Linked DNA regions of Homo sapiens: all the other regions are linked to region 1. Evidence: promoter capture Hi-C in 16 types of primary human blood cells and fetal thymus (Javierre and others, 2016). All regions are on one chromosome and are shown on one strand. Each heading gives the region's core, a stretch centred on a gene start or on the middle of the fragment in contact. The rest is flanking DNA. Distances are from core to core; before and after follow the strand shown. Region 1 holds the start of DOK7 (docking protein 7). Region 2 overlaps HTT (huntingtin). Region 3 overlaps HTT (huntingtin). Region 4 has its middle 11 kb from the start of MSANTD1.

Region 1 (5,656 bases), core at 1,754-4,253:
CTTCAGGAATGAAGGTTTGGGTCACTCCACCAGGAAAAAAAAAAACATGAACTGCTGAGGTGCTTGCTGAAGGCAAAGGGAAATGGTGAAGGTGAAGGAGGAGCAAAGGCACCTCTTACATGGCGGCAGGCAAAGAGCATGTGCAGGGAACTGCCCTTCATAAAACCATGAGATCTCATGAGACTTATTCACTCTCATGAGAACAGCACAGGAAAACCCCACCCCCATGATTAAATTTCCTCCCACTTGGTCCCTCCCACAACACATGAGGATTACGGGAGCTAATATTATTAATACAATTCAAGATGAGATTTGGGTGGGGACACAGTCGAACTGTATCAGGCATCCTATGGGCAGGCCAGAAGTGTTGGTTACCCCTTCCACCCATGCCTTACTGGCCAGAACTCACTCATACAGCCTTACCTGATGGGGGCGGGGTGGTGGTACTGGGAAATGTGGATGCACAAACGGGTGTGACCACAGGGTACAGTGCTTGCCACACTCAGCTGACGTGTTTCTCTCCCACACACCAGGCCACTTGGAGATGCAAGACAAAGCAGCCCACCCCTGGTCCCCATCATCCCCTTGGAATCACCTTGGAAAACCCTGGATCATTTTGAAAGATGCTCATGGACGCCATCTCATTGGGGCTCATCACAGTATCAAGGTAGAAGAGGAAGCTGAGACCAGTAAGATCACATGGTGGCTGAAGGTGGTGTGGCTAGTCAGGGACAGGTCCCTTGGCCACAGAGCCACTGGCGGGTGGCAATGTGCCACGACCATGGGGTCTGGCAGAGATGGCAGTGTCCCTGGCCACAGTGTCCAGCAGCAGCATGGCAGCCGCAGCAGGGCTCTGTGGTCAGACAGGGGTGCTGCTGTGACCTGAGACTGTGGGCTCCTTTGAAGGTGGTGACCCTGCCCCTCGTGTGGAGCCCAGCTGTGCTGTGGGGCTGAGCTGTGGTGTCCTCCTCTTTCAGGATGTGGCTCTGTTTTCACTGCCTACCAGCTCTCCAGCCTTCCCCTTGGTTCTTGGAGACCTGATTTGCTTCCAATCAACCCCTTCCTACTCAGTGGCCAGCCTATTTCTCCATTTGCAACCAGCAACCCTGGCTATAACTTCTGGGGAAACTTCTGGCTATAACTTCTGAGGCACGGAGCGGGGCAGGAGCTTGCCCAGGGTCACAGCGCTCTCGGCCAGTCTGGGAGTGGCAGCCAGGCCACCTCCTCCTCCTGCAGGAAGCTTCCTCCACCTTTCAGCAGCCCTGGAGCCGCATGGAGCAGGGAAGGGAGTTGTCTACCCTCCGGCATCCTGTGTGTTCCAGGCTGTGTGGGAGCAGGTGCAGCTGCCAGGCATGGCAGGAGCCTGGGCCCGGGCCAGCACTCAGGAATGCAGCAGGGCCCTGCCTCTCCCTGTAGGGATAAGCAAGTGCCAGGCGCCCAGGGCAGCGGATGTGTCTGTGGCTACAGCCCCAACGGCCCCCGCCTCCGCACCGGCTGTCCTGGGCCAGCCCCTTGGGGGCCTGGGATGTGTGGGGAGCATGAATGGGGCTCTGTGACCCAGCAACTGTTCTGCGGAAGGCGGCTGGTGGCTGCACAGGTGACTGCGGGGGTGGGTGGGGGATGCAAAATTCTGCTTCCTGGGCCTGGTGTCCCCCGCCTTGCATGAGGCCCTGACAAGACATCACCGAAGCACCAAAGCCAACCCTTGTGGCCCACCGGAGACCTGTCTCTTGGATCACAGGGGCAGTGGGGAGGGGCGCCCAGGGCTCCCGATGCCTCTGAGCCCTGCTCTGAGGTCAGCCGATGTGGCTCAGTCCTGGCTGTGAGGCCTCACGCTGCCCTGATTCCATTTGCTCCTCAGTGCGAGGCAGACAGAGCCCAGCCTAGGGTCTGGATGGGATGAAATGAAGACGTCTCCTCCCTAACGGGACACTGTCTACCCCTTCCTTCTTCTCCCCCGAGAACCGTCAGCCCCGTGAGGATGGGGTCTAGGGTAGGGCATGTGGACGGAGCTTTGCTGTTTGTCCAGGTGCTTATCTTCTAGGGTGCCATCGCCCCTCCCCACTGCTGTTCCCGTATCTGCTGGGTGTCCCCAACCCCAGGGTGGTGGAGGCCGTCTCTCGGATGGGGCTGACACCCAAGGCACGGACCTGCCAGGTCCCCCAAAGCACATGGCCTCTCTGCAGAAGAACCTGGATGTGACATCTAATGCCCAGGCCAGAGCTTGGGGACAGCTGGACTGGAGCCACAGGGTCAAGGAGGGGGAGTCCAGAAGCGCAAAGTCCACCCAGCTGGGAGGGCTGCTGGCAGGTCCTTTACAAAGCAGGCAGCTCCTCTGCCCATCGGAGCCGGCTGGCCTAACCAGGGCCTGCTCTTGCCTGGGATGGGGGCAGAAGAGGTGGAGACCTGGGGCCCTGAGGCGGCACTGTGGGTCCTGGACCCGCCCACCTGCACTGGGGTCCCTGCAGGCTTTTAATGGGAACAGAAATGGAGGAAGAGACAGAGGCTGCCAGGGGCTCCCCGACCCCTACTGCCTGCCTGGGGAGGGGTCACCTCAGTGTGGGGGAAGCCTGGGGATGTGAGAGCATCCTAGGCCTGGGCTGCCTGTGGCCAGTCTGTTGTCCGGGTGTCTAGTGACCCCTGGGGTAGGGGCAGATGCCAGTCTGGGAAGCCGGATTGTTTGAAGACCAACTTTAAAGTTGGGAGCAGTGCCCAGAGCGGGGCCGATGTCTGCTAGGTGGTTGTCTCTGCTTTTTGAAAAAGAAGTCCCCGCCCGACCCCCGCCCCGCCAGGCGCTGGTCTGAGCGTCTGAGCCCAGATGGTGCGCTTGCTCCAGAGGGCGGGCGGCTCCAGTGGCCGCCGCGGGACGGTGGGGCCAGAGGGGCCCGTGGGGGTGGGGGAGCCGCCCGCAGGAGAAGGAGCCCCGCCCGCGCCGGCCCTGGAGTCGCCGGTGTCGCCGCCCTGCCCGCGGGCCCGCCCTCCTGGCCCAGCCCAGGGCCCTGCGAGCTATTTTGAAAGTGACCCTGGGCTGGGGCGCCGGGGCGAGCGCGGCGGCGCGGAACCATGACAGAAGATGACCGAGGCGGCGCTGGTGGAGGGCCAGGTCAAGCTGCGGGACGGCAAGAAGGTCGGGGCGCGTCGGGGGCGCGGGGGGGGGGGGCGCGGGCGCGGGCGGCGGCTCACGCTCCCCCCTGTCCCCGCAGTGGAAGAGTAGGTGGCTGGTGCTGCGGAAGCCGTCGCCCGTGGCAGGTGAGCGGGGCGGGCGGGGGACGGGGGGCGCGGGGGTAGCGACACGGGTTACCGAGGCCCGGGGCAGTAATGCCAGCTTGCCCAAAATCGCCGCCGCTGTCACCCCGCCGGGAAACCCGAGAGCCCCGTGCGGACCCGGACCCCCCGGCGCCCCTGGGAGCGCAGGTGGGGGCCCTGGACGGAAGAACCCTCTTTCCAGCAGGGCAGACTGAGGCCCGAGGGGCTGCCTGGTGGCCCTGTAGGCGGAGGGGACGCAGGCCCTGAGCCCCCCAGCAGAGCAGCAAGGGGCCCCCCAGAAGCAAAGCCCCACATACCTGAGGGTTGAGCTGTGCTTGTGGAAACGCTCAGAGCAGGGCCCCCGAACCCAGCCTCCAGGGGTGCTGCGTGGGTTAGCGCTGACCCTGGACCCCTCCCAGGCAGACGAGAGGCTGGGCTGCGGTAGGGCAGGGCAGAGTGACTGCCACATTGCTGGGGGAACAGTCCTCTGGGAGGAGGCAGGGGTCCCCCCCCAGTCCCCGCCCTGAGCCAGCACCCCAGCTTGGGGAGGGTCAGCATGGAGCCCCCAGGTCTGGCAGCCCAGGCCGCCTGCAGCGCTGGGCCTGTAGGGAGGGCTGAGCCGGGCCTGCAGCTGCTCCAGAGGACAGGTGCGGCAGAGCCGGCCAGGCCCGGGTCTGGGTGGGATGCTCGGCCTGTGTGCATGGGGGGCTGTACGCCAGGGGGCTGCCAGAGCACCCTCCAGGACGGGTGTCTGTGACTCCCAGGGAGGGTGTGGGGCAGGGATCCCTCCTGCGTCCCCTCTGCAGGGCCTCAGGTGGTCCTGGAGGAAAGCACTTCCTGCCTGCCTCCGCCTCCCCTTGCAGGGCCTGGACTGCACGCTGGTCACTTCTCCACTCAGCCCTCCGTGCCCAGACCTCCTGCCTGGAGCTGTGGGGGCACCGACAGAGCCTGGGAGGGCGTCTTTGTCCTCCGGGGCTGCAGGGGACCTGGTATAGGAAGGGATGGGGTCTGGGCAGAGTGAGAGGCCCTGCCAGGCTGGGGCGGATGACAGGCTTTAGTCAGCTGTGGCTGGGTCGGGGCCGTGGTGGGGCAGGTGATGCTTGGTGGATGGTGCTGGGCTGGAGCCGGTGCAGACCCTCCAGAGAGGCCGCATCCCAGGAAGGCACCCGGGACAGCAGCCCCCAAAGAGGAGTGTCGGGGGAGAAGTCTTTGTCCCTGTTGGAGGGATTTTCTTTCTGCATCAGACAGTCCCAGGAGGCAGGGCCTGCCAGCCTCAAGAGGGTGTGCTCCCCCGGCCGGTGAGTGCCTGAGTGGAGTGACAGGAGTTTGCAATGGGTCCCCCAGGTGGGACAATCTGTGAGTCTGTAGGTGAACATGGTGGCTCCCGAGCGTCTGCTGGGTTATCCCGTATCCTGCGCAGTTGAGATCTGCAGCCTTCTGGGGCTGGCGTGGGAGGTGATGTGGGGTAGTAGAAGGTGCCATGCCCCCTCTGGGTGGATGTTCATTCCAAGCCTTGAGGCCAGGTGTCCCTAGCACCCACTGACTCACTGGCCTGGGACCCATTGCTTTGGACACCTGCTTTCTGTGTTGGTCACTCCAGCAGCCCAGGGTTGAAACTGACACCCTGTGGGGTTGCCCAGAGGTCGGTCAGATGAGGGGATGGGACAGAGCGGAGTTCTCACGCCCACCTCCCCACCCTGACCAGGCCAGCCTGGCACCTCCTCTCCGCTCAGAGGCCCTGATGCCTCTTCCCCTGGCCCCTCATAAGCCTCCCTAGATGCTGCCCCCTTTGCCTTCACCCAGCTGCCTTCCCGCTCAGCGCTGGAGACCACCTCCCTTGTGGATGGGCCCGGCGTGGAGGGAGCAGGCCCCAGCCCTGGAGGAGCAGACAGCACAGACCCTGCGCTCCTGGTGTGAGGGAGAGAGGAAGGGTCCCGTCTGCTTCCTTGTAAGACAGGCAGGGTTCTTTTTGTTACCAGTGGTGATTTCCTTCTGGGAAGGGCCCCGATGTGCACCTTTTCCACTGGCACCTTTCTCCTCCTTGCGTTTTTCTCAATCGTGAGCACGTCTTTCTGTTATGACAAGGTTTAGCGAATGAAAGGGAAACCCTTTTATCAAAGGGCTGCTCAGCCACAGCGCCTGGCATGGCCAGTGGACGTCGGGCCGTCTGCCTCGGTGTGGGACTGCAGGGTGCCCTGCAGTGGGACCACGTTCCTCAATGTCTCCACCGCGTCCTCACTGCGGAATGCGTGTCTGCGTCCCCTCTCTGGGCAGGGCCCCGGGGGAGGAGGGTGGTCTGTGTCCAGTTGTGGCCCAGGACTCACTGCTGGTGGCCCTGCATGCCAGCGGCGCCTGGCCCAGCCCCTCTCTTCTTCCTCCCAGGTGCGGGGGCTGGGGGTGGTGAGGAAAG
Region 2 (5,656 bases), core at 3,157-5,656, 250 kb before region 1:
ATGAGAAGATAGCTGTGAAGAAAAAGGTTTAAACAAGTGTATTTTCCTTTAAGAAGCCACTAATAGTGCATCTCCTTAGAGTGTATATTTCTAGAATCCTAGTGTGCAGAGTTTAGACTAAGACTAAAAAAAAAAAAAAACAAATTATACTGTAATTTCATTTTTATTTGTATTTTAGACACCAAAGGCTCTATTCCCTGCTGGACAGGTTTCGTCTCTCCACCATGCAAGACTCACTTAGTCCCTCTCCTCCAGTCTCTTCCCACCCGCTGGACGGGGATGGGCACGTGTCACTGGAAACAGTGAGTCCGGACAAAGTAAGTGTCCAGCGTGTCTGCATGGGAGGCACAGGGCGCTGAGTGCCTCTGTCACCTGTGGCAGATACAGAGAGTGCAGAGGAGGTGCCGTGGACCCAAGGAGTTCTGGCGCTCGGCTCGGCTCAGTGAAGCTGTGGTTAGAGACGTGGGGGGCCATCAAGGTCTGAGGGAGCCAAGCAGTGCTGATGTGGGACCCTTTTGGTAGGAGTGTGGGGTGAGTAGTTAGTGGGTGAATCAAGGAATAGTCGGCCGTGGCCTGCAGGCCCCTGACTGCACAGGCCTTCAAGCACATGTCAATGCCGTTAGCCTCCCTCCATCTCCTCATACCTTCTGGCCACCTGTGAGTTGCACTGCCACTGCCAGCCATTCTGGTATGTTGTCAGCACCTCCACTGCTCATACCTCATGGTTAGGGACCACCTGGAGCCTTGGTAGAGCCTTGGTAGAGCCTTGGTACTCTACTTTCCTGGACAAAGTTCAGCTTATGAATATGAATTTAGATTTCAAAAACCAGCAGCCCAAGTATAAGAAAGCGAAGGTTCAGTCCTGCCTTCTTAGGCTCTATTCGCTAAGCACCTGCCCTGCCCTGGTTGCTGGGGAGAGATGAGTAAAGCAGACAACCCAGGAGAGGATGGCAAAGGGGCCGCTAACCCTTAGTGGTTTAGCTATATTTGGAAGGCCTATTGGAAGTTCACCAGGTGAAGGGGGAGGCTGTGAGGGTGCCCAGGCAGGTAACAGAAGTCCAAAGGGGAAAACCTGTGGTGTGGTGAGCCGTATAGCCACAGCCTGCCGGCCGGCAGCCCTCTCAGCCTAGTGCGGTGTTCCCAAGCACTGGCCTAGGCCTGTAGCTCCAGGGATGTGAAGTCCCCTTGAACGCCGCCCATCATGTTCCCCTTATCCATTTTTTTCTTCCCAGGACTGGTACGTTCATCTTGTCAAATCCCAGTGTTGGACCAGGTCAGATTCTGCACTGCTGGAAGGTGCAGAGCTGGTGAATCGGATTCCTGCTGAAGATATGAATGCCTTCATGATGAACTCGGTACGGGGGGAGCAGTGGAGGCAAGGAATCCTCAGCTTTTCTTGTGACTTCCAAGTGGGATTTGTCTCATCATCATGTGACCCACTTGTTGACAACACATGTTGGGGACTCCAGTCTGGGCAGGGACGGGATGTCGGAGAGACTCCACTCTGAATGGGGCCGGGAAGTGGGGAGGACTCCATTTCAGATGGGGTCGGGACATGGGGGTTATGCTGATCGAGACAGAAAAGCACATTGTTTCAGCCACATTAGAATCCACGGAGGTGTTGTTTTGAAATCCAGCTGGCCCCAAGGCTGGGTGTATGGTTTGGGATGAGAACTATCTGGCCTCCACTGGAGGAACAAACACAGGATGTTATCATCTAAGCTCCATGGCCAAGACAGAATGGAAGTCAAGGTTGCGTATTTGCCGTAGACTTCAACACAGTGTCGTAATGCGTGACGTCAATAACTTGTTTCTAGTGTCTTGGAAGTTGATCTTTAGTCGTAAAAGAGACCCTTGGATGCAGCGAGATTTCCTCTACTCACACCTCTGTTAGATGTAGTGAGGTTCTTCACCCCCCAACCCCAGATGTCAGAGGGCACCCTGCGCAGAGCTAGGAGGCCATGCAAAGCCTTGGTGTCCCTGTCCCTCACCCGTGGGCAGGTCCTGTGAGCAGTGGGGGGGCCACCTCTTGGGTATGGTGCAGCCATGGCCCAAGCAGGGCTTCTTCTCAGACCTACTAGGACGGGAGAAACCTCCTGGTGCTTTAGCCCTGCGTTGATATGCAGCAAATGGGAGGGAAGTGGGCACCTGGGAGGACAAATGCCTGTAGAGGCCGGGAGTGACGGCAGGTGTTCATGAAAAGAGACCTTGTGGGGAGGGCAACACAACAGTGTGTTCTGATGTACTGAAGAGCTCAACTGAAAACAACAGGAGAATTAGCCCAAAATCCATTTACTAAAATTGTTTATCTTTTTTTTTTTTTTTGAGACAAAGTCTCGCTGTTGTCCCCCAGGCTGGAGTGCAATGGCGCTATCTTGGCTCACTGCAACCTCCGCCTCCTGGGTTCATACGATTCTCCTGCCTCAGCCTCCCAAATAGCTGGTATTAACAGGCATGCACCACCACGCCCGGCTAATTTTTGTATTTTTAGTAGAGACGGGATTTCACCATGTTGGCCAGGCTGGTCTCAAACTCCTGACCTCAGGTGATCCGCCCACCTCGGCCTCCCAAAGTGCTGGGATTATAGGCCTGAGCCACCACGCCCGGCCTAAAATTGTTTATCTTAAGATTCATGCAGTGAAAGCTAACTTACTGAGTGATAAATTTGCTTAGTGATCTGTTTATTAGGTTTTCCAAATTTGCTAATTGGGCTTTGAACAGCTGTAAAAGTTCTGACTGTAAAAGAAAGCTTCAACTTTTGGCATTCATGATGCTTTTCTGAGTATTAAACTAAGATAGATGTTTTACCTGAAGGATCGGCCACCAATCTTTAAATGGCTAAACAAAAGGGTTGCTAAAACATAATCCAAATTGACATAAGAAATACCATTTTTCCAACCAAAATTTTGGCATTCATATGGCTACTTTTACGTATTTCAGCTGCATTTGAACATCTTTTTCAAACTTTAGGGTGGTTGGTGTATCACTGAGGTCTTGGATGACACTTTAGCTTTGATTTTGTTTTTATGAATTAAAATTGTCATACCAAAATTTTTATTTCAAGCAAATCCAAGAGCATAAAAAATTAAAATATTACTTAAAATACTAAGAGAGAACAGATATATATTTTACTAAGCATATGTTGAATGAAATTGTTCAAATATTTATAACAGGCATAGAGTAGAATTTTCTTAAAAATATTTTTGATGGTATACCAATTTGTATTTTCTCAGAAACATTTGCCTTATTCTTTTTTCTGTTGTGTTTTTCTTACCTGATTGAAAGCTCATAATCTGTTGTTATTGTTTGTTAACCTTTAATGCTCTGATTTCAGGAGTTCAACCTAAGCCTGCTAGCTCCATGCTTAAGCCTAGGGATGAGTGAAATTTCTGGTGGCCAGAAGAGTGCCCTTTTTGAAGCAGCCCGTGAGGTGACTCTGGCCCGTGTGAGCGGCACCGTGCAGCAGCTCCCTGCTGTCCATCATGTCTTCCAGCCCGAGCTGCCTGCAGAGCCGGCGGCCTACTGGAGCAAGTTGAATGATCTGTTTGGTAATTAAAATTAAAATTTATCTTATTTTTAAAAAGCATTCCAGGGCCAGTATAGTACTTTGCACCAAGTAAATGTACAATAAAGGCAGTGGATCTAATACATTGAAAGCGTTTACAGAGGTAGCTAAAGAGCAGCACGGGTGTCCTCGGCTCAGAATTTCTTCCTGTGTGTTTGCCACTTTGCCATTCATTGACATGGTCATGGACATAGGGCTCTAAGCCCTTGAGGAAGGCTGGGCCAGACCTCAGGGGAGATGCAGCCCCAAACCACGTGCAGTCCTGTGGACGGATGTGTAGATGTGCCACTGAGGAACAATGTCTTGAGCTTTCATCAGATTCTCAGAGAATTGCTTGACTGCCTTTCGAAGTTGATGCATCTGTGCTCACGTTTGCACCCACCCACGAGGTCCTTCTGTTTCAGGGGATGCTGCACTGTATCAGTCCCTGCCCACTCTGGCCCGGGCCCTGGCACAGTACCTGGTGGTGGTCTCCAAACTGCCCAGTCATTTGCACCTTCCTCCTGAGAAAGAGAAGGACATTGTGAAATTCGTGGTGGCAACCCTTGAGGTAAGAGGCAGCTCGGGAGCTCAGTGTTGCTGTGGGGAGGGGGCATGGGGCTGACACTGAAGAGGGTAAAGCAGTTTTATTTGAAAAGCAAGATCTCTGACCAGTCCAGTCACTTTTCCATCTCAGCCTGGCAGTAAGTCTTGTCACCGTCAAGTTATTGTAGCCATCCTTCACCCTCACCTCGCCACTCCTCATGGTGGCCTGTGAGGTCAGCCAGGTCCCCTTCTCATCTGCACCTACCATGTTAGGTGGATCCTAATTTTAGAGACATGAAAAATAATCATCTGGAAGTACTTTATGTCTTAAGTTGGCCTGGACATGTCAGCCAAGGAATACTTACTTGGTTTGTGTTAGTGCTTGTAATTCGCCCCCAGAATGTGTACACGTTCTGGATGCATTAAAGTCTGGCCTGTATCCTTAAAGGGCCATCGCTGTGCTGCCTGCCCTCAGCAAGGACACACTTTGCAGACCCACAGAGGCTCCGCCTCCACCTCACACCAAAGAAAGGGAGGAGTCCAAAGGGCATCAGTGCCATTACTCACAAAATGATAAATACACCCTTATTCTGAACCACGTGGAGTCATATGGTTTGTGATCCCTGTCCTTCAGGTTTCAGCTTAGTGGGGAAGTGGGAAAGTCAGCGTGTGATCACAGCACAGGGTGATTGCTGCTGATTATATTATGTGCCTGCTGTATGCAGGATGAAATACTTTATATGCGTCATCTTATTTGACTCTCACAACCCCCTGTGAGATAGGCTCTGTTACTCCCATTTGACAGGTGAGGAAAGCAAGGCTTAGAGAATTTCAGTGACTTGCCCAGGTCCTCTGAGCTAGGAAGTAGCCATTCTGGCATTTGAACCCAAGGCCTGCTATCCCTAGAACCCACGCTCTCAAATTCAACCTATGACAGAGGCAAGCCCTGGTGCTGTGGGAGCCCCAAGGAAGAGCCTCTGGCCTGGTGGCCACGTAGCCCAGGAGAGATTTCTACAGGAGCCCACAGCGCTGAAGGAGAGAGAGGCAGCAGAGTAAGGGGGCTTTGTGGCAGAGAGGGGACTGGCACTTTGGGGAATAGGTGGGTCAGGACTGAATGTAATGGAGCCATGTCAGAGCTGTCCTTCTGGAAGGGCAAGGGCACCTGGACGCGCTGCCCCTCAGTGCTTTGGACGGTTCCACAACTGTGATTCACACGGCTTCCCCAAACGAAGGTACACGAGTGGGCATTCTGTGACTCGGTACTTCCCTTTAGGCCCTGTCCTGGCATTTGATCCATGAGCAGATCCCGCTGAGTCTGGATCTCCAGGCAGGGCTGGACTGCTGCTGCCTGGCCCTGCAGCTGCCTGGCCTCTGGAGCGTGGTCTCCTCCACAGAGTTTGTGACCCACGCCTGCTCCCTCATCTACTGTGTGCACTTCATCCTGGAGGCCGGTGAGTCCCCGTCCATGAACGGTGGGTTCCTATCATAGTTCCTGTCTGCTTCACCATGTTTTTATTTTGTGCTGCCTGTTTGCCAGGTACTAAGCTAGGAATTGGGGATGGAGAG
Region 3 (5,232 bases), core at 2,733-5,232, 220 kb before region 1:
CTGGCCCCGTTTCCCTTGTCAACACCGAGGCTCATGTTTCATGATAAGGTTTTGAAACCTAACCTTTGCAAAAACCCCACAGATGCCAGGGTGACAGGCCCTCAGCCCCAGGGAAGTAAAATGCTGACAGGGGTACAGAAAGGAGCACGTCCAGACATTTGCTGACCAGGGCCTCTCAGAGGGGCCGGTGTATGGCAGGAGGGTCGCAGCTGAGGGGCCTTTCTGTGGAGGGCCTGGGTGAGGGGAGCGAGGGTGGGCGGTGGTCTCTGCAGACGTCCCGCCCACTCGCGGGCTCTGTGTGGCTGGGCTTCTCCTGACACTGCTTCTCATTAGCTTTGGTCATTGTGCCTCGATCGCCCTCTCGGGGAAAGGCTTAAGTAAAGATCCAGTTCCCACCCCCAGATGCTGGCTGCCAGGAGTTTCCCTTTCCACAGCCCTTCCCCAAGACAGACCACAAGAGCCTCCAAGCAGCACAGTTGTCCTGGTGCTGACAGCACAGCCTTGCCCGGCGTGCCTGGCACGGCTCTGCCCTCACTGCATTGGAGCAGGGCTAGTGGAGGCCAGCGGAAGCACCGGCCACCAGCGCTGCACAGGAGCCAGGCCAGGTGAGTGCTGCCGAGTGGGTGCCCTGCCTGCAGGGCATCCAGCCAGCCAAGGGTTGCAGGAATGGAGGTGGAGGCGCTGATGCAGCTGGAGGCATCCAGGTGGCCCTTCCGGGGCTCTGCTCGCTCTCCAGGCTCCCTGGACCCCTTTGTAGACTGTTTCAGGAGAGGAACTCCCAGGTGAGGACAGGGAGGCAGCATTCCCCTCATTTGCCGGCCTTTTTCCTTAACTCCTGCACCAGCCTCCCACATGTCATCAGCAGGATGGGCAAGCTGGAGCAGGTGGACGTGAACCTTTTCTGCCTGGTCGCCACAGACTTCTACAGACACCAGATAGAGGAGGAGCTCGACCGCAGGGCCTTCCAGTCTGTGCTTGAGGTGGTTGCAGCCCCAGGAAGCCCATATCACCGGCTGCTGACTTGTTTACGAAATGTCCACAAGGTCACCACCTGCTGAGCGCCATGGTGGGAGAGACTGTGAGGCGGCAGCTGGGGCCGGAGCCTTTGGAAGTCTGCGCCCTTGTGCCCTGCCTCCACCGAGCCAGCTTGGTCCCTATGGGCTTCCGCACATGCCGCGGGCGGCCAGGCAACGTGCGTGTCTCTGCCATGTGGCAGAAGTGCTCTTTGTGGCAGTGGCCAGGCAGGGAGTGTCTGCAGTCCTGGTGGGGCTGAGCCTGAGGCCTTCCAGAAAGCAGGAGCAGCTGTGCTGCACCCCATGTGGGTGACCAGGTCCTTTCTCCTGATAGTCACCTGCTGGTTGTTGCCAGGTTGCAGCTGCTCTTGCATCTGGGCCAGAAGTCCTCCCTCCTGCAGGCTGGCTGTTGGCCCCTCTGCTGTCCTGCAGTAGAAGGTGCCGTGAGCAGGCTTTGGGAACACTGGCCTGGGTCTCCCTGGTGGGGTGTGCATGCCACGCCCCGTGTCTGGATGCACAGATGCCATGGCCTGTGCTGGGCCAGTGGCTGGGGGTGCTAGACACCCGGCACCATTCTCCCTTCTCTCTTTTCTTCTCAGGATTTAAAATTTAATTATATCAGTAAAGAGATTAATTTTAACGTAACTCTTTCTATGCCCGTGTAAAGTATGTGAATCGCAAGGCCTGTGCTGCATGCGACAGCGTCCGGGGTGGTGGACAGGGCCCCCGGCCACGCTCCCTCTCCTGTAGCCACTGGCATAGCCCTCCTGAGCACCCGCTGACATTTCCGTTGTACATGTTCCTGTTTATGCATTCACAAGGTGACTGGGATGTAGAGAGGCGTTAGTGGGCAGGTGGCCACAGCAGGACTGAGGACAGGCCCCCATTATCCTAGGGGTGCGCTCACCTGCAGCCCCTCCTCCTCGGGCACAGACGACTGTCGTTCTCCACCCACCAGTCAGGGACAGCAGCCTCCCTGTCACTCAGCTGAGAAGGCCAGCCCTCCCTGGCTGTGAGCAGCCTCCACTGTGTCCAGAGACATGGGCCTCCCACTCCTGTTCCTTGCTAGCCCTGGGGTGGCGTCTGCCTAGGAGCTGGCTGGCAGGTGTTGGGACCTGCTGCTCCATGGATGCATGCCCTAAGAGTGTCACTGAGCTGTGTTTTGTCTGAGCCTCTCTCGGTCAACAGCAAAGCTTGGTGTCTTGGCACTGTTAGTGACAGAGCCCAGCATCCCTTCTGCCCCCGTTCCAGCTGACATCTTGCACGGTGACCCCTTTTAGTCAGGAGAGTGCAGATCTGTGCTCATCGGAGACTGCCCCACGGCCCTGTCAGAGCCGCCACTCCTATCCCCAGGCCAGGTCCCTGGACCAGCCTCCTGTTTGCAGGCCCAGAGGAGCCAAGTCATTAAAATGGAAGTGGATTCTGGATGGCCGGGCTGCTGCTGATGTAGGAGCTGGATTTGGGAGCTCTGCTTGCCGACTGGCTGTGAGACGAGGCAGGGGCTCTGCTTCCTCAGCCCTAGAGGCGAGCCAGGCAAGGTTGGCGACTGTCATGTGGCTTGGTTTGGTCATGCCCGTCGATGTTTTGGGTATTGAATGTGGTAAGTGGAGGAAATGTTGGAACTCTGTGCAGGTGCTGCCTTGAGACCCCCAAGCTTCCACCTGTCCCTCTCCTATGTGGCAGCTGGGGAGCAGCTGAGATGTGGACTTGTATGCTGCCCACATACGTGAGGGGGAGCTGAAAGGGAGCCCCTCCTCTGAGCAGCCTCTGCCAGGCCTGTATGAGGCTTTTCCCACCAGCTCCCAACAGAGGCCTCCCCCAGCCAGGACCACCTCGTCCTCGTGGCGGGGCAGCAGGAGCGGTAGAAAGGGGTCCGATGTTTGAGGAGGCCCTTAAGGGAAGCTACTGAATTATAACACGTAAGAAAATCACCATTCCGTATTGGTTGGGGGCTCCTGTTTCTCATCCTAGCTTTTTCCTGGAAAGCCCGCTAGAAGGTTTGGGAACGAGGGGAAAGTTCTCAGAACTGTTGGCTGCTCCCCACCCGCCTCCCGCCTCCCCCGCAGGTTATGTCAGCAGCTCTGAGACAGCAGTATCACAGGCCAGATGTTGTTCCTGGCTAGATGTTTACATTTGTAAGAAATAACACTGTGAATGTAAAACAGAGCCATTCCCTTGGAATGCATATCGCTGGGCTCAACATAGAGTTTGTCTTCCTCTTGTTTACGACGTGATCTAAACCAGTCCTTAGCAAGGGGCTCAGAACACCCCGCTCTGGCAGTAGGTGTCCCCCACCCCCAAAGACCTGCCTGTGTGCTCCGGAGATGAATATGAGCTCATTAGTAAAAATGACTTCACCCACGCATATACATAAAGTATCCATGCATGTGCATATAGACACATCTATAATTTTACACACACACCTCTCAAGACGGAGATGCATGGCCTCTAAGAGTGCCCGTGTCGGTTCTTCCTGGAAGTTGACTTTCCTTAGACCCGCCAGGTCAAGTTAGCCGCGTGACGGACATCCAGGCGTGGGACGTGGTCAGGGCAGGGCTCATTCATTGCCCACTAGGATCCCACTGGCGAAGATGGTCTCCATATCAGCTCTCTGCAGAAGGGAGGAAGACTTTATCATGTTCCTAAAAATCTGTGGCAAGCACCCATCGTATTATCCAAATTTTGTTGCAAATGTGATTAATTTGGTTGTCAAGTTTTGGGGGTGGGCTGTGGGGAGATTGCTTTTGTTTTCCTGCTGGTAATATCGGGAAAGATTTTAATGAAACCAGGGTAGAATTGTTTGGCAATGCACTGAAGCGTGTTTCTTTCCCAAAATGTGCCTCCCTTCCGCTGCGGGCCCAGCTGAGTCTATGTAGGTGATGTTTCCAGCTGCCAAGTGCTCTTTGTTACTGTCCACCCTCATTTCTGCCAGCGCATGTGTCCTTTCAAGGGGAAAATGTGAAGCTGAACCCCCTCCAGACACCCAGAATGTAGCATCTGAGAAGGCCCTGTGCCCTAAAGGACACCCCTCGCCCCCATCTTCATGGAGGGGGTCATTTCAGAGCCCTCGGAGCCAATGAACAGCTCCTCCTCTTGGAGCTGAGATGAGCCCCACGTGGAGCTCGGGACGGATAGTAGACAGCAATAACTCGGTGTGTGGCCGCCTGGCAGGTGGAACTTCCTCCCGTTGCGGGGTGGAGTGAGGTTAGTTCTGTGTGTCTGGTGGGTGGAGTCAGGCTTCTCTTGCTACCTGTGAGCATCCTTCCCAGCAGACATCCTCATCGGGCTTTGTCCCTCCCCCGCTTCCTCCCTCTGCGGGGAGGACCCGGGACCACAGCTGCTGGCCAGGGTAGACTTGGAGCTGTCCTCCAGAGGGGTCACGTGTAGGAGTGAGAAGAAGGAAGATCTTGAGAGCTGCTGAGGGACCTTGGAGAGCTCAGGATGGCTCAGACGAGGACACTCGCTTGCCGGGCCTGGGCCTCCTGGGAAGGAGGGAGCTGCTCAGAATGCCGCATGACAACTGAAGGCAACCTGGAAGGTTCAGGGGCCGCTCTTCCCCCATGTGCCTGTCACGCTCTGGTGCAGTCAAAGGAACGCCTTCCCCTCAGTTGTTTCTAAGAGCAGAGTCTCCCGCTGCAATCTGGGTGGTAACTGCCAGCCTTGGAGGATCGTGGCCAACGTGGACCTGCCTACGGAGGGTGGGCTCTGACCCAAGTGGGGCCTCCTTGTCCAGGTCTCACTGCTTTGCACCGTGGTCAGAGGGACTGTCAGCTGAGCTTGAGCTCCCCTGGAGCCAGCAGGGCTGTGATGGGCGAGTCCCGGAGCCCCACCCAGACCTGAATGCTTCTGAGAGCAAAGGGAAGGACTGACGAGAGATGTATATTTAATTTTTTAACTGCTGCAAACATTGTACATCCAAATTAAAGGAAAAAAATGGAAACCATCAGTTGTTGCTGTGTGAGGCTTGCTTTGCTTCATGAGAACCTAGACCTTGCTGAGCTGGAGTCTTAGGAAGCAGTCTCCTAAGTGCTTCTCCAGCAGGGGCAGAAACTGTCCCACCAGCTAACATCTGGCATTATGGAGGGTCCCCCAGGCAGCTGCCAGCAGGGACAGGCCCCGTGTTTTCTGTAGCCAGGGATGAGGAAGTGGCCCCAGGGCATGGGCCTGGCTGGGTGCTTCTGCAAGGGCCTTCCCAAACCACAGTACAGGTGGTCTTCCT
Region 4 (5,656 bases), core at 862-3,361, 200 kb before region 1:
GCTTTTCAAGCTTAGTGGGAGTCTTTTGGCCAGTGCAGCTCTGGGTCTGACATCGGTGGGGGACAGAGGGGTGGTGGAGCGGCCACAGCTGCAAGCTCACCTCACTGCCGGCCCTTCCACCAGTTTCAAACTCTTTCTAGAAGCTCCAGCTTTCCCAAAGCTGAATTCTCTATGAGCCTCCTTGGCCGGGACTCGGGCGTCTGGTTGCCCTGGCTGCAAAGGAGGCTGGGGCCAGGTGTGTTTGAGTCACCTCCTGGAATTAGGCAAGTTGCTGCCCAAATAGAAGGTTGTTGGCAGGTGGGTCAGCAGGTGAACAGCATGGTTTGACTCAGGGTTCAGAAAAATCTCCCTCTGGCTGCCAAGCGAGCAGGCCGTGGAGACAGGTGCAGAGGCAGGTGTGGCAGCAGGCATCCTGCCAGGCAGTGCTGCAGTCATCCTGCGACAAGCAGCAGCAGCTCATCCTACCCTCTAGGGGGTCTTGAGGTCAGCCAGGCAAGAGAGCAGCTTGGACTCCACTGGGTGTGGGACCAGCCTGTGGACCATGGTGGTGTGGAGGGTGCCCTCGGCCTGCCTGTGTGAAGGAGAGGCCGGCGTGTTCTGTGGAGCCCAAAGGGGAGCTGGGCAAGCAGGATTCACTTCACTCTGAGGGTCCTGGAGCTCCCACCCTCCTCAGCCATCTCCCCAGAGCCTGTGTGCCGAGGACTCGGCCCATGTTGCTGTGGGATGAGAGGCAGAGTGTCGTGAGGGTGTAAGGAGCGGCGGCAGTGGTGGGAGGAGGGAGCAGCAGCCAGCGCTACGGTGCCAGTTTCCAGCTGCCAGATGACGCCGCTGACCCTGTGGTTGAGAAGAGATGCACAGAGCCAGCTCTTGCAAGCCAGTGTGGCTGCCATAGCACCTGCCGAGAAGCAGAAGGAAGGGTGGCCCCAGGAGGACAGAGGATGCGGGCACATCTGATGCGGGCCTGAGTTTTGGGAGCTTTTGCTCTAGCCAGTTTCCAGCTCCGGGACCCACCCGCCTCGTAGGCAAGACACCACCCAAGAAATCATTTGCTTAACAAACACACTGGGCTCCAACTGGACACCTGTGCCACCCTAGATGCTGGGAACCCAGCCATGACACAGGCACCTGCCCCCAGCTGCTGACCACTGAGGCTGGCTAGCAGCTCCCATGGGGCCAGTGTGGGGTTCCCCAGCCTCCTAACAGGGAGCCAGTCACAAGCCCTCGAGAGGGAAGGGTGCCCGCGGCCCTGGCAGGAAGGTTAGGCTGGACGCTCCCACAAGACATAACAGATGGAGGTTCTAAATGATGTAGCAACTTCTTCACCCTGAAACTGCTGTAGAGTCAGCCATGACGCACCGGTACTTCAGTAACTGCCAGGCATCCGGGACAGCACACCGCGAGTCGCTGCTGTGCTTGGGTTAGAAGTGGTTTGGTCTGTTTTCTTCTCGCCCTCTCTAATCAGAGTCAGTGATTCATGCCCTTCCATCACCTTAGAGAAGGGGCAGGCGCTGCCCGACCTTCTCCAGGCTGGAGCAGCATCGCCTCATGTCAGCAGAACTCAGCTGTAGAATATCGTGGGGTTGGTGCCTTTCATCAGCAGCATGTCCTTAACAACTTTCTGATTTCTTCCTTAGTTGTTGGTCCATTAAGGAGAAAAAAAATGATCTCAGCCATTGCTAAAATATTTGATAAGATTCAGCAAAGCAGCATGTTAACATTGAAAACTAGAATCAGGAGCCAGGCAGATGTGCTTGCTTTTCACCTGTAGTATTTCATGTTGTTTTGACGTTTTTAGCTAATGCATTAAGATAAATAAACAAAAGCCGGGCACGGTGGTTCACGCCTGTAATCCCAGCACTTTGGGAGGCTGAGGCGGGAGGATCCTCTGAGGTCAGGAGTTCAAGACCAGCCTGACCAACATGGAGAAACCTCGTCATTACTAAAAATACAAAATTAGCTGGGCGTGGTGGTGCATGCCTGTAATCCCAGCTACTTGGGAGGCTGAGGCAGGAGAATCGCTTGAACCCGGGAGGCGGAGGTTGCAGTGAGCTGAGATTGCACCACTGCACTCCAGCCTGGGTGACAGTGAAACTCGGTCTCAAAAAAAAAAAAAAATTAAAAAAAGATAAATAAAATAAGCAGGATAAGAAATGAAGAAAGTAGAGTTACCTTTGTTTTCAGATTTCATTTTTGTATACCCAGAAAGCCAAATGTACAAAAGACTGGGAGCTCTTTAAACCAGCTTAAACTTGTTGAAAATGAGGATGAAGAAATATCCCATTCAGAGTTGGAATGAATTTAACCCAGAAGGAACAGGACCTCTACTGAAGAGAACTATGCAGTCTTACTGAAAAATCTAAATAATACCTGAGCGCTGGAGAAACTTCGCACACTCCTGAAAGCTCCAAAGTCAATGTCATCATTTTATTAATGTCATTCCAAACATAGTCTCAATAATATCACTTCTTGGTTTTGACATGGACGCGATGATGTTTAAATTCATATGAAAAAAGAACGGGGCCAAAAGTCCAAGGCCAGTCAGCGTGAGAAGACCGCTCGGCCTCCCTCGGAGTCGGGGAGTTGGAACCGCAGACTGAGATCATGTGGCTGCTGGAGGCCAGGACGAACGTCGGGAAATGGAGACTCCTGCGTTGCTGGTGGGATGTGGTGCAGCCGCTTCCAGGAGCAATTTGGTGTCCCGTCCTAAAGCTGAAGAAACGCATTTCCTCTGGTCAGTGCCACTCCTAGACAGGCCACCCTGCGGCAGCCGTCCTCAAACTGGTCTGAGGACCCCTCAACGCTCTTAAAAATCATTAAAAGTGGGCCAGGTGCGGTGGCTCACACCTGTAATCCCAGCACTTTGGGAGGCCAAGACAGGCGGATCACGAGGTCAGGACATTGAGATCATCCTGGCTAACACGGTGAAACCCCGTCTCTACTAAAAATACAAAAAATTAGCCGGGCGTGGTGGCGGGCGCCTGTAGTCCCAGCTACTTGGGAGGCTGAGCCAGGAGAATGGCGTGAACCCAGGAGGTGGAGCTTGCAGTGAGCTGAGATCACTCCACTGCACTCCAGCCTGGGCAGCAGAGCGAGACTCTGTCTCAAAAAAAAATAATAAATAAATAAATAAAAATAAAATAAAATAAAATTCATTAAAAGTGCCAAAGAACTTTTGCTTATGTGAGTTCTAATGACCAATATTAATACACATTAGAATATCTTATTAGAAATTAAACCTGAGACCTTTAGAAAACATGTATTCATTTCAAAATAGCAATAAACCCATGACATATTAACATAAATAACAATTGTATGAAAAATATATTTTCCAAAACAAAAAGTTTTCGGGAGAAGTGTGGCATAGTTTTACATGGTCGTAAATCTCTGGCTTAAGAGAAGCCCACTGGCCTCTCAGCAGGCTCTGGGTCCGTCCACTTTGGGGGTGTTTTGGTTGTGAAGTATAGGAGTGAATGGAGAAGCTCATTCTTACCCAGATGTGTATTTGAAAAGAAAAGGAACATTTTAATAACCTTTGCAAATAATCGGTATATTCTTCCGTGATCCTATTCCAACACTGGACAGGTGGTGGTTTGTTTTTTTTTTTTGGAGACGGAGTCCCGCTCTGTCACTCAGGCTGGAGTGCAGTGGCGCGATTTCAGCTCACTGCAAGCTCCGCCTCCTGGGTTCACTGCAAGCTCTGCCTCCCGGGTTCACGCCATTCTCCTGCCTCAGCCTCCTGAGTAGCTGGGACTACAGGCGCCCGCCACCACACCTGGCTAATTTTTTGTATTTTTAGTAGAGATGGGGTTTCACTGTGTTAGCCAGGATGGTCTCAATCTCCTGACATCGTGATCCACCCGCCTCGGCCTCCCAAAGTGCTGGAATTACAGGTGTTAGCCCGGCCGACAGGTGGTGGTTTTTTACTGGCCGGTTGTGTGTGGAATCTGATACCCTATCAATGAACTTCTACTTCATTTCAGGAGAATCCATTGGTCCGTCTTGTGCTTCAAGGACTCTGTCCATCATGCCTTTGTGACCTCACACGCTGGGCCTTTGGTTCACTAAGTTATGCGGATATTCCAAATGCTGACACAGTTCCTTAATCAGTATTTTAAAATCACTTTTGGCGATATCACCAATCTTAGAAAAGTCTTTCAGTTGGAAAGGTGGTGAACTCATGGTGGTGTCTTTCAGAATTCTGATTTTTGCATGAAAGCTTGAATTTTATCATTGGTAACAAATGCTGTCAGCTATTTTCTTTGAATGAGACAGGCTCACTTTGTTCGTTTTCCAAAAAAAAAAAGTCTGCCAGGACACCCAAGGCTGAACAACCAGAGTTTTTGCACATCCTTTTTTTGAGTAAAAAGTGTGCTCCATACGTGTGTTCCAGATCCAGACGGCAGCTCAGCCCATTGCACACCTGCATTTCCTCAGCGTGGACGTGGGGCAGGCGCGCCTTCCAGTTGCTCGGGCAGGACGTTGAAAAGATGTGGACCCAGGGGTCAAGACCTCACACACTCGACCATTTTCACTCCATCACGGACATTTGGAAGTGACCGGCGTTTCACACTGCAGCTGTGCGGTGCGAAAACCCCTCAGGGCTGCGCCGGGGCTCGGGGCCTGCCTGCGTTCCTGCTCAGGTCTTGCCACATCAGTGCGCATGTCAGCTCCGTGAAGACCCCGTGAAGACCCCGTGATCATCAGACTATGATGAAAGCAGCTGCAACCTCAGGGACCCTTGGTGACCCACAGGCCGAGACCTGAGAACCACTGCCTGAATGCTGGAGCGGGCACACAGGTGACCTGAGCGAGCCTCGTCTGTCCTTGCCCGGTACCCAGAGCTGGCTCACTGGCGATTGGTGGACGCACGGGCGCTGTCACACAAAGGGGCCCTCCGTGTGACTGGGTGGCGTCATCACAGACAGCGTGTGGGAACCGTGCCCCCAAGCGGGCCCAGAGGGACTCCCTGCTGTCTTGTAGGCACTGGGGATAGGGTCAGGTGGAAAGCAGATACAAATCTTTGTCTTTACAGGGTTTCGAGTTGAGGGTGGGGCTAGACCAACAATAAACACGTAAGTGTCTAGTATGTTAGAAGAGAGGTGCTTTCCAGGGAAATAAGGCTGTAGGGGGATTGGAGCCGTGGGGTGAGAGAAAAGGCCTTCAAAAAATGTCATGTGAGCGGATGGAGTGGGAGGGGCGCCCTCACCTGAGCACTGGGAGCTGCACTGTCTAGGTGGGAGCTGGCTCTGAGGGCGAGGTGGGCCTGGACAGGGACACCCTGCTTTCTGCTGGGACAAGAGAGTCCCGGAGCAGGGAGGGTCAGGTGTGGCGTGGAGCCTGGGAGGTGGGTGAGGGGTGCTCAGGAGGCATCCTGGCCTAGGGGAGGATAGAATGGTTGGACTGGCACAGGCCTTGGCTGTTGCCCGGGCATGGGGAAAAACCAGAACCTCTGTGTGCTGGCTTTGCGCTCGTGGCCATCTCCAGGACTCAGAACATGCGAGAGGCACGCAAGGTGGAGCGTGTGGGAGAAGGTGCTGCCTGTGGTTTCAGCCCAAGTTCATCTCAGCTGGGTCCGGAGGGAGAGGGCACCCTACCCCTAGAACACGAGCATCTTACAGTAGAAAAAGCCAGTTGGAAGCCCCTGGGGACCGCCTTA

The links. The method cuts DNA at HindIII sites, captures the fragments that hold promoters and counts their contacts. A CHiCAGO score of 5 or more calls a contact.
Region 2: a fragment that was not itself captured here is called in contact with the fragment with the promoter of DOK7 in region 1 in 3 of 17 cell types (M0 macrophages, endothelial precursors and naive CD8 T cells); the score reaches 7.6 in M0 macrophages.
Region 3: a contact is called between a fragment that was not itself captured here and the fragment with the promoter of DOK7 in region 1, in 1 of 17 cell types (endothelial precursors). The highest score is 5.1, in endothelial precursors.
Region 4: a fragment that was not itself captured here is called in contact with the fragment with the promoter of DOK7 in region 1 in 1 of 17 cell types (M1 macrophages); the score reaches 5.9 in M1 macrophages.

Annotation. Positions count from the first base shown.
Region 1 is chr4:3,460,303-3,465,958 of GRCh38, forward strand. It overlaps DOK7 (docking protein 7), which reads left to right and starts at 3,004. Exons shown (of 7, transcript NM_173660.5): 1 at 3,004-3,127; 2 at 3,204-3,249. The coding sequence starts at 3,074. RefSeq lists enhancers at 1,782-2,629, 5,547-5,656. The HindIII fragment of the contact is 8,339 bases long and covers 1,239-5,656 here.
Region 2 is chr4:3,208,595-3,214,250 of GRCh38, forward strand. HTT (huntingtin) reads left to right here. Exons shown (of 67, transcript NM_001388492.1): 46 at 179-317; 47 at 1,233-1,355; 48 at 3,335-3,548; 49 at 3,970-4,115; 50 at 5,364-5,541. Among named protein-coding and RNA genes, the nearest start is that of MSANTD1, 38 kb to the right of the region's middle. RefSeq lists enhancers at 4,857-5,357, 5,358-5,656. The HindIII fragment of the contact is 3,319 bases long and covers 2,748-5,656 here.
Region 3 is chr4:3,239,002-3,244,233 of GRCh38, forward strand. HTT (huntingtin) reads left to right here. Exons shown (of 67, transcript NM_001388492.1): 67 at 845-4,956. The coding sequence ends at 1,058. Among named protein-coding and RNA genes, the nearest start is that of MSANTD1, 7.5 kb to the right of the region's middle. The HindIII fragment of the contact is 2,634 bases long and covers 2,666-5,232 here.
Region 4 is chr4:3,256,942-3,262,597 of GRCh38, forward strand. No RefSeq gene overlaps it. Among named protein-coding and RNA genes, the nearest start is that of MSANTD1, 11 kb to the left of the region's middle. The HindIII fragment of the contact is 4,206 bases long and covers 9-4,214 here.